2 separate regions of the Homo sapiens genome follow, and region 2 is linked to region 1. Evidence: promoter capture Hi-C in human tissues and cell types (Jung and others, 2019). All regions are on one chromosome and are shown on one strand. The core of a region is centred on a gene start or on the middle of the fragment in contact, and the rest is flanking DNA. Distances in the headings are between cores, read along the strand shown.

What was found. Contacts are between HindIII fragments. The study calls those that stand out against the background at their distance.
Region 2: a fragment that was not itself captured here is called in contact with the fragment with the promoter of ST6GAL1 in region 1 in 1 of the 25 tissues and cell types used here (thymus).

The regions. Positions count from the first base shown.
Region 1 is chr3:186,927,998-186,933,303 of GRCh38, forward strand. It overlaps ST6GAL1 (ST6 beta-galactoside alpha-2,6-sialyltransferase 1), which reads left to right and starts at 2,529. Exons shown (of 8, transcript NM_173216.2): 1 at 2,529-2,837. RefSeq lists enhancers at 2,144-2,752, 4,846-4,895, 4,916-4,975 and silencers at 2,440-2,519, 2,760-2,949. The HindIII fragment of the contact is 4,331 bases long and covers 2,423-5,306 here.
Region 2 is chr3:187,189,489-187,194,794 of GRCh38, forward strand. No RefSeq gene overlaps it. Among named protein-coding and RNA genes, the nearest start is that of RTP1, 5.3 kb to the right of the region's middle. The HindIII fragment of the contact is 6,597 bases long and covers 1-5,306 here.

The DNA.
Region 1 (5,306 bases), core at 1,279-3,778:
ATGGAGTTTCACCATGTTAGCCAGGATGGTCTTGATCTCCTGACCTGTGATCCGCCCGCCTCGGCCTCCCAAGGTGCTGGGATTACAGGCGTGAGCCACCACGCCCAGCCCCGGTTAATTTGTTTTGTGTTTTTAGTAGAGACAAGGTTCCACTGTGCTAGCCAAGATGGTCTTGGTCTCCTGACCTCATGATCCGCCCGCCTAGGCCTCCCAAAGTGCTGGGATTACAGGCGTGAACCACCGCACCAGGCTGTTCTTAGTTCTTAAGTAATGTTGACATATGGGTGATGATGAAGGAGATGATTAAAGCTTTCAAAGAAAGTGGAAGAATGTGTCAAATTCTCTCTTCACTTCCTAGATGACTTCAGTTTCCTAATCCATAAAATAGGACTAAGACCATTACTTATCTGATGAAAAGGAGAGACAATGTAATAAATAAGGTGCTTTGAATCCTGTATTAGTCCATTGTCACACTACTGAGAAAATTATAAATTACCTGAGACTGGGTAATTTATAAACAAAAGAGGTTTAATTGACTCACAGTTCCATATGGCTGGGGAGGCCTCAGGAAACTTATAATCATGGTGGAAGGTGAAGGGGAAGCAGGGCACATCTTACATGGCGGCAGGTGAGAGAGAGAATGCAGGGGAAATGCCAGACACTTATCAAACAACCAGATCCCGTGAGAGCTCCCTATCACAAAAACATCATGGGGGAAACCGCCCCCCACGATCCAATCACCTCCCAGGAGGTCCCTCCCCTGACACATGTGGATTACAATTCAAGATGAGATTTTTGGGTGGGGACACAGAGCCAAACCATGTCAGATCTCCAAATGGTAGCTATTATTTAGATGTCCTTTTCTTCTGTCTTGTTACAGTCACTGACACAGTTCAGGCTCTTATTATATCTCCATTGATGTCAGCTTCCAATCTAGTCTCTTGCATTCTCTGCTTCTGCCATCTATTTTCCAGTGTGGTGCCAGAGGAATCCTTGTAAAATACAAAGATGCATGTCATGCTACTGCACAGAATCTTTTAATAGCCTCCTTTTTTTTTTTCCCTTTTTCGAATAGGGCCTAAAATCTTCAATGTAGCATCCTTCCAGAAATAGTCTTCTGAACTTGGCTGCTTCTATTCATTCACGCATACATACATTTTACTGTCAGGAGCACCTTCTATATGCCAAACACTAAGCTACGTGTTTCACGTAGGTCATTTCACAGGATCCTGAAAACAACGCTTTCCTTAATATCTCCATTTTGCAGAAGAGGAAAGGGAGGCTCACAGGATGTGGAACTCACCCAAGAAGGCACAGCGAGTTGGTCATAAAGATTTGAATTCACTCTGGCTGGCACTCCCTTCAATTGGAGCTCTTTGTACTGAGCAAAAATGCCTCAGGGGCAGCAGGGAAGGGAATGACAGTATCAGCAGAAGGGAGCCAGGATCAGGACAGGGAGGAAGCAGTGTTTGGAAGAAGGGTGCTGGGGACAGGGTGCGGATGTAACTTCCCTTTCCAAGGTTGGTGATGTGGGGTAGGCACCTCATTTGGAGACAGAACTCTGGGCCTGGGCTTCAGGCACTTTAAGTGTGCACTGGACTTTGTGTTCCCAGAGGACCCCCAAACCTTCCAGTATCTCCTTCCTTTCCCCTTTCCCACCCAGCACACAGCCTGGTGCCTAGTGTGCACTCAGTAGACAACTGGGATATGACTATTGCCTCTGGTAGTCACATCCTCTCTTTGGGCTATGGGAGGCTGGACTGGAGGCCTTAAAGGCCCCTTCCGCCCTCCTGTTGGGCAGTTTTTCTTTCTTAGGGAAATCGCCTTGGGGCTATCGGGGATGGTCAGTACGCAGCTTGGTTAATCCTCTTTCCTTCCCCAGCAGCCCCACCGTCGTCCGGGTGAAAAGAAAGAACCTCGCTCCCTTCACCATCCAGGCTGAGGCTTCAGTCTTTCAGCCTGCAGCTTGGGGTGGAAGCCTCTGGGTGCAGGGGTTCGAGGACGCTCCTCTCCTTCTGTATTTGCCATTTGAGAGCGCCCAGTAGGAGTCATGCCTCAATGTTAGGAGGTTAATGCCAAACGCAGTGAAAGATTTTGTTCTTTCCTATTCTAGATAAGAGCAACACGAGTCTTCGGAGAGGTTAAGCGACTTCCTCAGGGTCTCGCAGTCAGCCGGTAGCAGAGACCGGGTGTACAGCACCCGCATGTTAGGACCAAAAGCCGGACACTGCTGGATTGACCCCTCGCGGCCAAGCGGGGAAGAGGCATTTAGGGGTCCTTGCGCAGCCGCGTGGCCCCTCCCACTCGGCCCTCGATCCACCCTCCTTGAGAGCAGGCAGGATTCTAGCATCACCCAGTGCCTTCATCAAGAGTCTTTAACCCCAAGCCCGCTCGCTAGCGACCTCCAGGCCGGTTTGGGGCGCGGTGTGGCCGGTGGCGAGAGGTGGAGTGGGGGCGGAGACCGACCCAGTCTTCGCAACTCTATTTGCATACGGAGGCGACTCGCTTCCTTCCCGCCCCTCCGCCGCGCTCTTCTTCCTTCCTTCTCCAGTCCCTTCCACTGTGCGTCTTCTGTCCCCCGTTCTTCCCCAGCGGACCCCTCTTTCGAGACTCCCTAGTGGGGTCCCCAGCTCCCGGGCGATCCTGCCCTTGCCGAGCGCGTTTTCTGGAGTCACCTGGGGGAGGGGAGTCCTGGGCAGGGCCGGGCTGGGGAAGACGCCTGGGGCACTGCCCGGCGTTAACAAAGGGAGCCGATACCGACCGGCGTGGGCGCGGAGCGGGCGGCCGCCACCGAGCGTGCTGAGCAACCGCAGCCTCCGCGGCCGAGAGTGCAGCGAGTGAGTAGGGGGTGCGGTGGGCGGCGGCGCGGCCCGGGCTATCCCGGGAGGAGTGTGATGCAAAGGGGCGCGGGAGGATAGCGGAGGCGCGGGGCCCGCGGCGCGCGTAGGGCGCAGGGAATCTCTCTCCAGCTCCGCCTCAGCTGCCTTGGCTCCGGGGCTGGCCGCCTTTTGGTTGGGGGTGTGTGCATTTTTGTCAGGGCCAAAGGGCCACCCTGGCTTCTCTCTGGCTCCGCGAGCCTGCGGATCCACAACAAACCCACGTGCGCACAGCCCCGGGGAACACGGATTTCTCCACGGCACCGTCAGTATGGGGTGGGGTGGCGTGGGGGCATTGCGCCTTGCAGAGTCTGGGTTTACGGATCGACAAATTGAGGCCCGCGGCAGCGGAGGGGGCACAGGCACCATAACAAACGCACGTGCGCCCTGCCCGGAGAGCTGGACGCACTGCATACCCTTAGGGGCCGCCCTGCGGTGCCGGGCCATTGTCTCAGCCTCGGGGGAGGGAGTGGCTCTAGAGGCGCCACTTGCTGGAAGAGGGCGAGAGAGACATTTAAAAGGTACCGCTTGGGCATCAGACTAAACTGCCAGACTTAAAAAGGGAAACCAAAACAAGAAAGCAGCTACAAAAAGGTTACTCCAGGCTGAGTCGGTCCCCGGCCGTGGCGCATTCTTTTGGGTGAAGTGGACCACCCCTCACCTTCACCTCCTGGAGGTCTCTTAGAGATGTGGGTTGGGTTAAGGGTCTAAGGGTGCCCCTCAAAAAAAGAGAGTGCTGGGTGCACTATTGTCCCCGCACTCCGGCGATTGCCTCTGTGGGGATATTTTGGTCGCCTCCTCAGCCTGCGGGAAGAATGTACGAGTCGCCCAGTGCGGTCTTGCTCTTTGCCTCTGAGGCCCGTGTCCGTGTGCCCAGACACCCCAGATGTCACTAGCCCCTTTTGGCTTGTTAATGCATTTTCGCAAGCAAGGCCAGCCGAGACCTCGTATTCTAGCTGGGGACGTACAATTTTCAGTTCTGAGTTTATTTGAAAGAAATTCCGAGGTCCGGAAAAAGAGAACTCTTGTTTGTTTTGCTTTTTCTTTGCTTACATATGCTCAGCTCAGCTTTGCAGATGTTAATCGGACACGATCTGCAGCGGGGAGATGGTTTCGCGGTGAATTGGTCTCTGAGGCGATGGTGTTGGTGCAGGTTGTGGGCGTGCAGTGTGAGCAGGAATGGAGGCGCCGCCGCCCCAGTGTGTGCCTGCTGAGCGGGCGGGCTGCTGCCTCACCTTGGCTAGTGTGGCTGAAGATTAACCTGTCCCCGGGGGGGGAACTGGAGAGCCTCCAATCCTATTCCGCTGTTATTGAAAAGGTCTAGAGAGCATCTAGGGAGCCTTCTCATTTTACAGGCAGGAAGCTGAGGCCGGAGAGTTCAGCCACTTGTCCAAGTTTAAACCGGGTGAAACGGGCCACAGAGAGAACACTTGAGTGTGGGTCTCCCAACTCCCACTGCATCGCTCAGCGGGCAACTAAAGGCAAAACCGGGATTCTGTGATTGGCCTAAAAGGCAGTGGCCTTAGGCAGAATAGGGTGAAACAAAGAGTAATTCAAATAGAAAGCTGCACCCTTCCATTATCCCTTTCAAGAATTCTTTATTCTGTTGAGAAAAAATAGATTTAGTAATTCCTTACTCTCCTTCAAGCCTTTCAAAAGCTTAGTTATTTTTCTCTCCTGGCTGCCCCTTCCCCTCAAATTGGAATAAGGCCAGCTACGGAGACTCAGATGTTTTGCCTCTCATCCTTGTGCCAGGAGGCCTTTGTTTGGGCAAAAGCATGGGCTGTTGACATCAGCCCCACGGGGAAGAAAGTGTGTCTTAGCAAGCTACTCCTGAGCCACTTGTGGGAGAACAAAGCATTGTTTTCACTGATCTTATTAAAGTTACTTTTTTTTTAACGAGAGTCCCATGGAAGTAGCTGCTTATTTTTGTATTTGGCAGAGAAGTAGGAAAACCAAAAAAACACTGAGAAGCCGGATTTCCCCAAAGTTAACATGTTGTTTTGCACTGTGCCTGTTATCTCCTAGTTACACTTGTTTCTTTTCCTTAGAGTTTCCAGCGTGTTTCACTTTCAATGTGATTCTGGTAGCAACAGGAGGCAGCTGGATGCCTAGGCAGATAGGGTCAGGTACCCGGTGAAACCCCCACCTCCAGGCCAAAGACAGTTTAAAGCCTGAAAGCCAAGCTACGAGTTAAATCCTCAGACCAGAGTGAGAACTTGTTTGGCGTGCTTTCCCCTAATTGATTCCTACATTTCGCCTGTTTTACATATACCCACTTTTTCCTAATTGGTTTTCTACGCTGCCGTGCCCACCTTTGAGTGGTGTCTTTGCTTTCATCTTTTTTGCATACTCACAAACCGGTCAGCATGCACTCCCTATTCTGAGTCCATAAAAGGCCCCTGACCCAGCCACATTGGGGAACTTTTC
Region 2 (5,306 bases), core at 1,270-3,769, 260 kb after region 1:
TATTTTATACCTATTTATGTCTTCATATGAAATGTCTCAGAGTCACTGGCACATCTGATTAGGATTAGACTAGATAATTTCCAAGATCCCTTTTACTCCATAATTCTGTTCTATACATCTTTGTATTTTCAGGTCATATGGTAGAGACTCAGCCAAAGTGACTGAATGCAAATGTGATTCAGGTTTATTCTGTGGCCACTGTGAAATACACATCTGCTGTCCAGAGCGGTTTCCTCTCATTTGCAAAAGAGAGGACCAAGTTTTCTTGTTTTATTGCTTTTCTTGGAAAGATCATGCTCAGAAGGAGGGCAAGTGTGCATCAGAATGGATTTTTTTCTACTCCTTCCTCCACTTTCTTTCTTTCTTTTTACCCTAGTGAGTAGAGGTCTTTGATATAATAGAATAAAGGGACATAAACTTTGTTAGCATAGTAAGAAATGACAGCTATGCAATGGAATGTGGTCAGTATTAGTGGGAGAAAGGTTATTAGCTTATAGATACTCTACACCGAAGGTTGAAGCAAGGTCCTGAAGAGAAAGTAGAAGAGCAGAAGAGATCAAAGAGAAGACCTAGAAAGGAGACCAGAAAAAATAAGGGGAAGTTCTGGACATGCATTCTAGGTGGACTCTCAGTGGACCTATTGGAGATTTGATGGAAGAGTAAAGGAAAGTTGTGTCCTGTCTTCTGAACTCCATGAGTATGCCATTCAACCACAGTAAGACGGTCTGATAATGTACAGTGACTTCATTTCCTACTAGACCTTCCATGAAATGTTATTAGGGTTGAACGGTTGCATATCTTTCCAAAACTGCTTCAGGAAGAATCTCTTGGGGGTACAGTCTGAAGATACGTTCCCATAATAGTGGCTGCTTGGCAACAGGAACATGCTTAAGGGTCAGTCTTCATGTCCTAAGCCAAAGGCTCTGGGTTAGTGTGGGTCACCTGGCTATTGATGTTCACTGGACATGAAATGAGTGAGACTAATTTATCTCTATATCCCATGTGTCCAGTATAGAGCCTGGCACATGGTAGTTGATAATTCAGAGTGTTTTAAAAAACAAATAAATGAATAACATTGTTGCTTCCCCACATGTAATGTTGCCTTGCCCCTTCTTCAGAATAAGGGGAAGGAAGCTGTCTTTTATTTTAGATCAAATATCCTGAAAATAGGGAAATTAGTTTTTGAGGACTTGATAATTTCTCTCAAGTATGCCCTTCTTCACTTCCTGGACCATGGCACTGTTCCCTTGGTAATATCCATAGAACATTTTCTGATGAATGCTCTTCTCAAAGACAAGATCTTGCACTTGAAAAAAAAAAAAAAAGCAGAGAGACTGGGCAGTAGTGCATGCCTGTAGTCTTAGAACTTTGGGAGGCTGAGGTGGGAAGATCACGTGAGCCCAGGAGTTTGAGACCAGCCGAGGCAACACAGTGAGACCCTACCTCTACAAAAAAAAAAAAAAAAAAAAAAAAAAAAAAAAAAAATTAAAAAATCAGCTGATCATGATGGTGCATGCCTGTAGTTCCAGTTATTTGGGAGGCTGATGTGGGTGGATCACTTGAGCCCAGGAGATCGAGGCTGCAGTGAACCATGATTGAACCACTGCACTCCAGTCTGAGTGACAGAGTGAGACCCTGTCTCAAAAAACAAACATAGAAAAAACAAAACACATAGACTGGGCACAGTGATGTGTGCCTATAATTCCAGCTACTCAGGAGGCTGAAAAGGAGGATTGCTTGAGCCTGAGAGCTCAAGAGTAACTTGGGCAACATAGACAGAACCCATCTCTGAAAAAAAAAAACACAGAGTTTTATGGGGATAAAACTTCAAGAGAATGAAGACTGGGGGACTTTGGATTTTGGGCTGTATATCTCTGAAGGGCCCTCGCTGATGGTAGGCACATATGCCTCACAAAATTGAGCAAGAGCTTGGAAAAGAAGTTCAATGGTTGCTGTTGGGGTGGAGGGGAAGCAAAGGAAGAGGTTCTTATAAATCATGACTGGGCATGCAGAGGTGGGTGGTACTGGCAGGCTGGGTACCTGTAATGCTTTCCTTTGCTTTGACCCAAAGGGAGCAGCCCTACTGTTCCTATCTGGCTATGTTTTGGGATTGGACTTGCTGGATTAGTTTACTCTTTGGCTACTTTGCCTTTTTGATCCTTAGTTTGCTTTTTTTTTTTTTTTTTTTTGCAAAATAATGTCAACCTCTACCTACATCATAGAATTGGACATCGTGTTCTCAAGGCACTAAGCTCTTTGAAGGATGAAGAAAAATAATCAGGTACTGTGGTAGAAAGTCTCCAAAGATGGCTGCCACCAATTCCTTCCCTTCCTATAGGCACAGGCAATTTCCCCATCAAGAGTTGAAGTTTATTTCCCATTCCCCTATATCGGGCTGGCCCTGTGATTGCTTTCATCAACAGAATATGACAGGAGTGATGTTATGGGACTTCTGACTCTAGCCTTAAGGAGGACTGGAAGCTTCCATTTATTCTTCCTAGAATGAATCTTCTTGGAAACAAACTACCATGTAGTGAAGAAGCCTGAGCAGCTAAAAGGAAAGACCCAAGTGGAGAAATACCATAATGGTGAATAAGGCATTATGAAAGTTCACAAATGGCAGAGGCATTGTGGAGAGGAAGGGAAGTCCATATTCACGGTAATTGTTTCTTCCAGTGAAAACAAAGGTCTATCCCTTCCTTGATGGAAATGGTCCAGTGTAATCAACTTGCCACCAGGTCGTTGGTTGTTTCCCATGGAATCATGGCCCAATCAATTGTTCAGTGTTGGTCTCTCTCTGTTTTTGGAATTTGGGCATTGTATTAGTCCATTCTTGCACTGCTAAAAAGAAATACCTGAGACTGGGTAATTTATTAATATAAAGAAAAGAGGTTTAATTGGCTCAGGGTTCCATAGGCTGTACAGGTAGCATAGCTGAGGAGGCCTTAGGAAACTTACAATCATGACGGAAGGTGAAGGAAAGCAGGCTTGTCTTACGTGGCTGAAGCAGGAGGAAGAGAGAGCGAAGGGGGAGGTGCTACACTCATTTAAACAACCAGATCTCATGAGAACTCACTCACTATCACCAGAAGAGCAAGGGGGAAATCCACCACTATAATCCAATCACCTCCCACCAGGACCCTCTTCCAACATTGGGGATTACAATTCAACATGAGATTTGGGTGGGGACACAAATCCAAACCATATCAGGCACTTAGCAGTGGATTTAGAGAATTCCTTATATACCATTGTGATATTCCATATAGCATTGCTTCTGACTGGCAACTCATTTCAAAGTAAAGGAAATCTGGCAATGAGCTCACACTCATGAAATTCATTAGTCTTAACTATATCACCCATAATCCTGAAGTAGTTGGCCTGATTGAACAATGTGGTGGTCTTTGGAAGACTCAGTTATAGAATCAGCTGGGGGACAGGACCTTGCAGGGCTAGGATAATGTTCTCCAGGATGTGGTACATGCTCAGAATTAGCAACCATGATGATATAGTGCTTAGTTCCAAGAATTAAAGGGTAGAATGGACTGGCTTTCTCAAAATTAGCCCTAATGGTAAACTAGTTTTTTTTCCCTTTTCTTTCTGTACCCATAACTTTGATCTCTGCTATTTTAGAAATCTTAGTACCCAAGGAAAAAAAATGTTGCCATTAGAGAAGAAAATTAAAAATTCCTTTAAAGTTGAGACTACTACATGGGCTCTTAATATCATTAAATCAACAGATGGAGGGGCTTACTGTTCTGGTCCAGCAATGTTGGGGCATTCTGGAAGGAAAGAGTCTTTGTTTTGGGACTGTGAGGCACATTTAGATCTTTGGTACAGGGTACCAGTAGAAACTTCCAGTCATGGGTCCAGCCCTAAAACACACCCCTCCTTCTTCTCAAATGCCATTTAGGGATAGAAAATTGTGCATAGTTGAGAATTTTTCATGAGTGCATCATTTCAAGAAAAAAAATTAGAGGCTTGTTTTTTCTTTTCATTGCTCTATTTTCTAGTTGGGAACTTAATTTAAAGCATTTTATCCACTTAAAACATGATCACAAACTTTAAGAAATTGACCAGGGTGAGGCCAACAGCTTTAGAGATGTCTGAATTGGCCTTCTCTAAATTGTAGATTCCATGGTGTTAGAGGTCATTTGATAGAGAGCAAGTTGCAATACCACAGTATTTTTTTCTGTCTTGATAGAAATTTTTATTAGAGAAAATACTCTGCTATCCAGAAGGATGCATTATATTGGCCTCTGCACAGCAAGCTTGGGTTCTAAATAAAACTTAATTTGTGCCAATGGGGATTGCATCAGCTGGTTACACACACACACACACTCACACACACACACACACACACCCCTCTGGTGATTCTTACTTTCTGTCTTCTGTCATCATAGTGTTTATTGTAGCAACACCTGCAAAATACTTCTAGAGGATTTGTTCTGGGTAGCACTGTTTGTTATAAGCTCCTCTCAGCTTCACGTATTTTCTGGGAAGGTCCACAGCCCCCATTCTCATTTTGGCCAGTAACTCCCACCTGAGGCAGTTCCCATCATATCTGTGAGGTTTGTTAAACGAGTTTACTTATTTAGGTGTTGGTTGCCTTAATTCAGAGGTAAGAATACTGACTTGAAGGACTGAAAGTTTAATGAAGGGTCCTGAAGAACTTAAGAGTTTTTCCCAATGCCGGCCAGGTGAGATGGCGCATGCCTGTGATCTTAGCACTTTGGGAGGTGGAGGCAGGAGGTTTGCTTGAGCCCAGGAGTTTGGGACCAGCCTGGGCAACACAGCAAGACCCCGTCTCTACATAAAAAATGGGTTTTCCAATGTTAATGTTCAGTGGCTTGATATATTTAATTTCTGTCCTTCTTGCTGTGTTCAGTACAAATCTAGTAGAGAAGCACCTCCCCAGAGATCGTCAACTATATAGCAGGCCCCAGGAAACAGAGCCTGGCTCCAGGCATTACCTGCCATGCCTCTTTAGAAGCTTCCCTCTTCCAACCAGTGGCCTCCATCCTACCTCCTGCCCTCCCAGGATTCAGTTTTCTAAGTATAAAGCTGTTTGAAACCATACATGACTGAAGTTAGAGGGGAGCTTACCTTTGTCATCTACCCTAATTCTTCATTGAACAGATGGACAAACTGAGGCCAAGGGAAATTAGTGGCTTGCCCAAGGTCACAATGTCAGCCAGGAGCAGAGCTGGGCTATGTGTCTCCTGACTCCCAGTTCAGTGCTCTCTCCATTGAGCCAAGATGCCTGGCATCAAATGATTGAGGCTTTACAGGGTTGCTGTGCCTAGAGA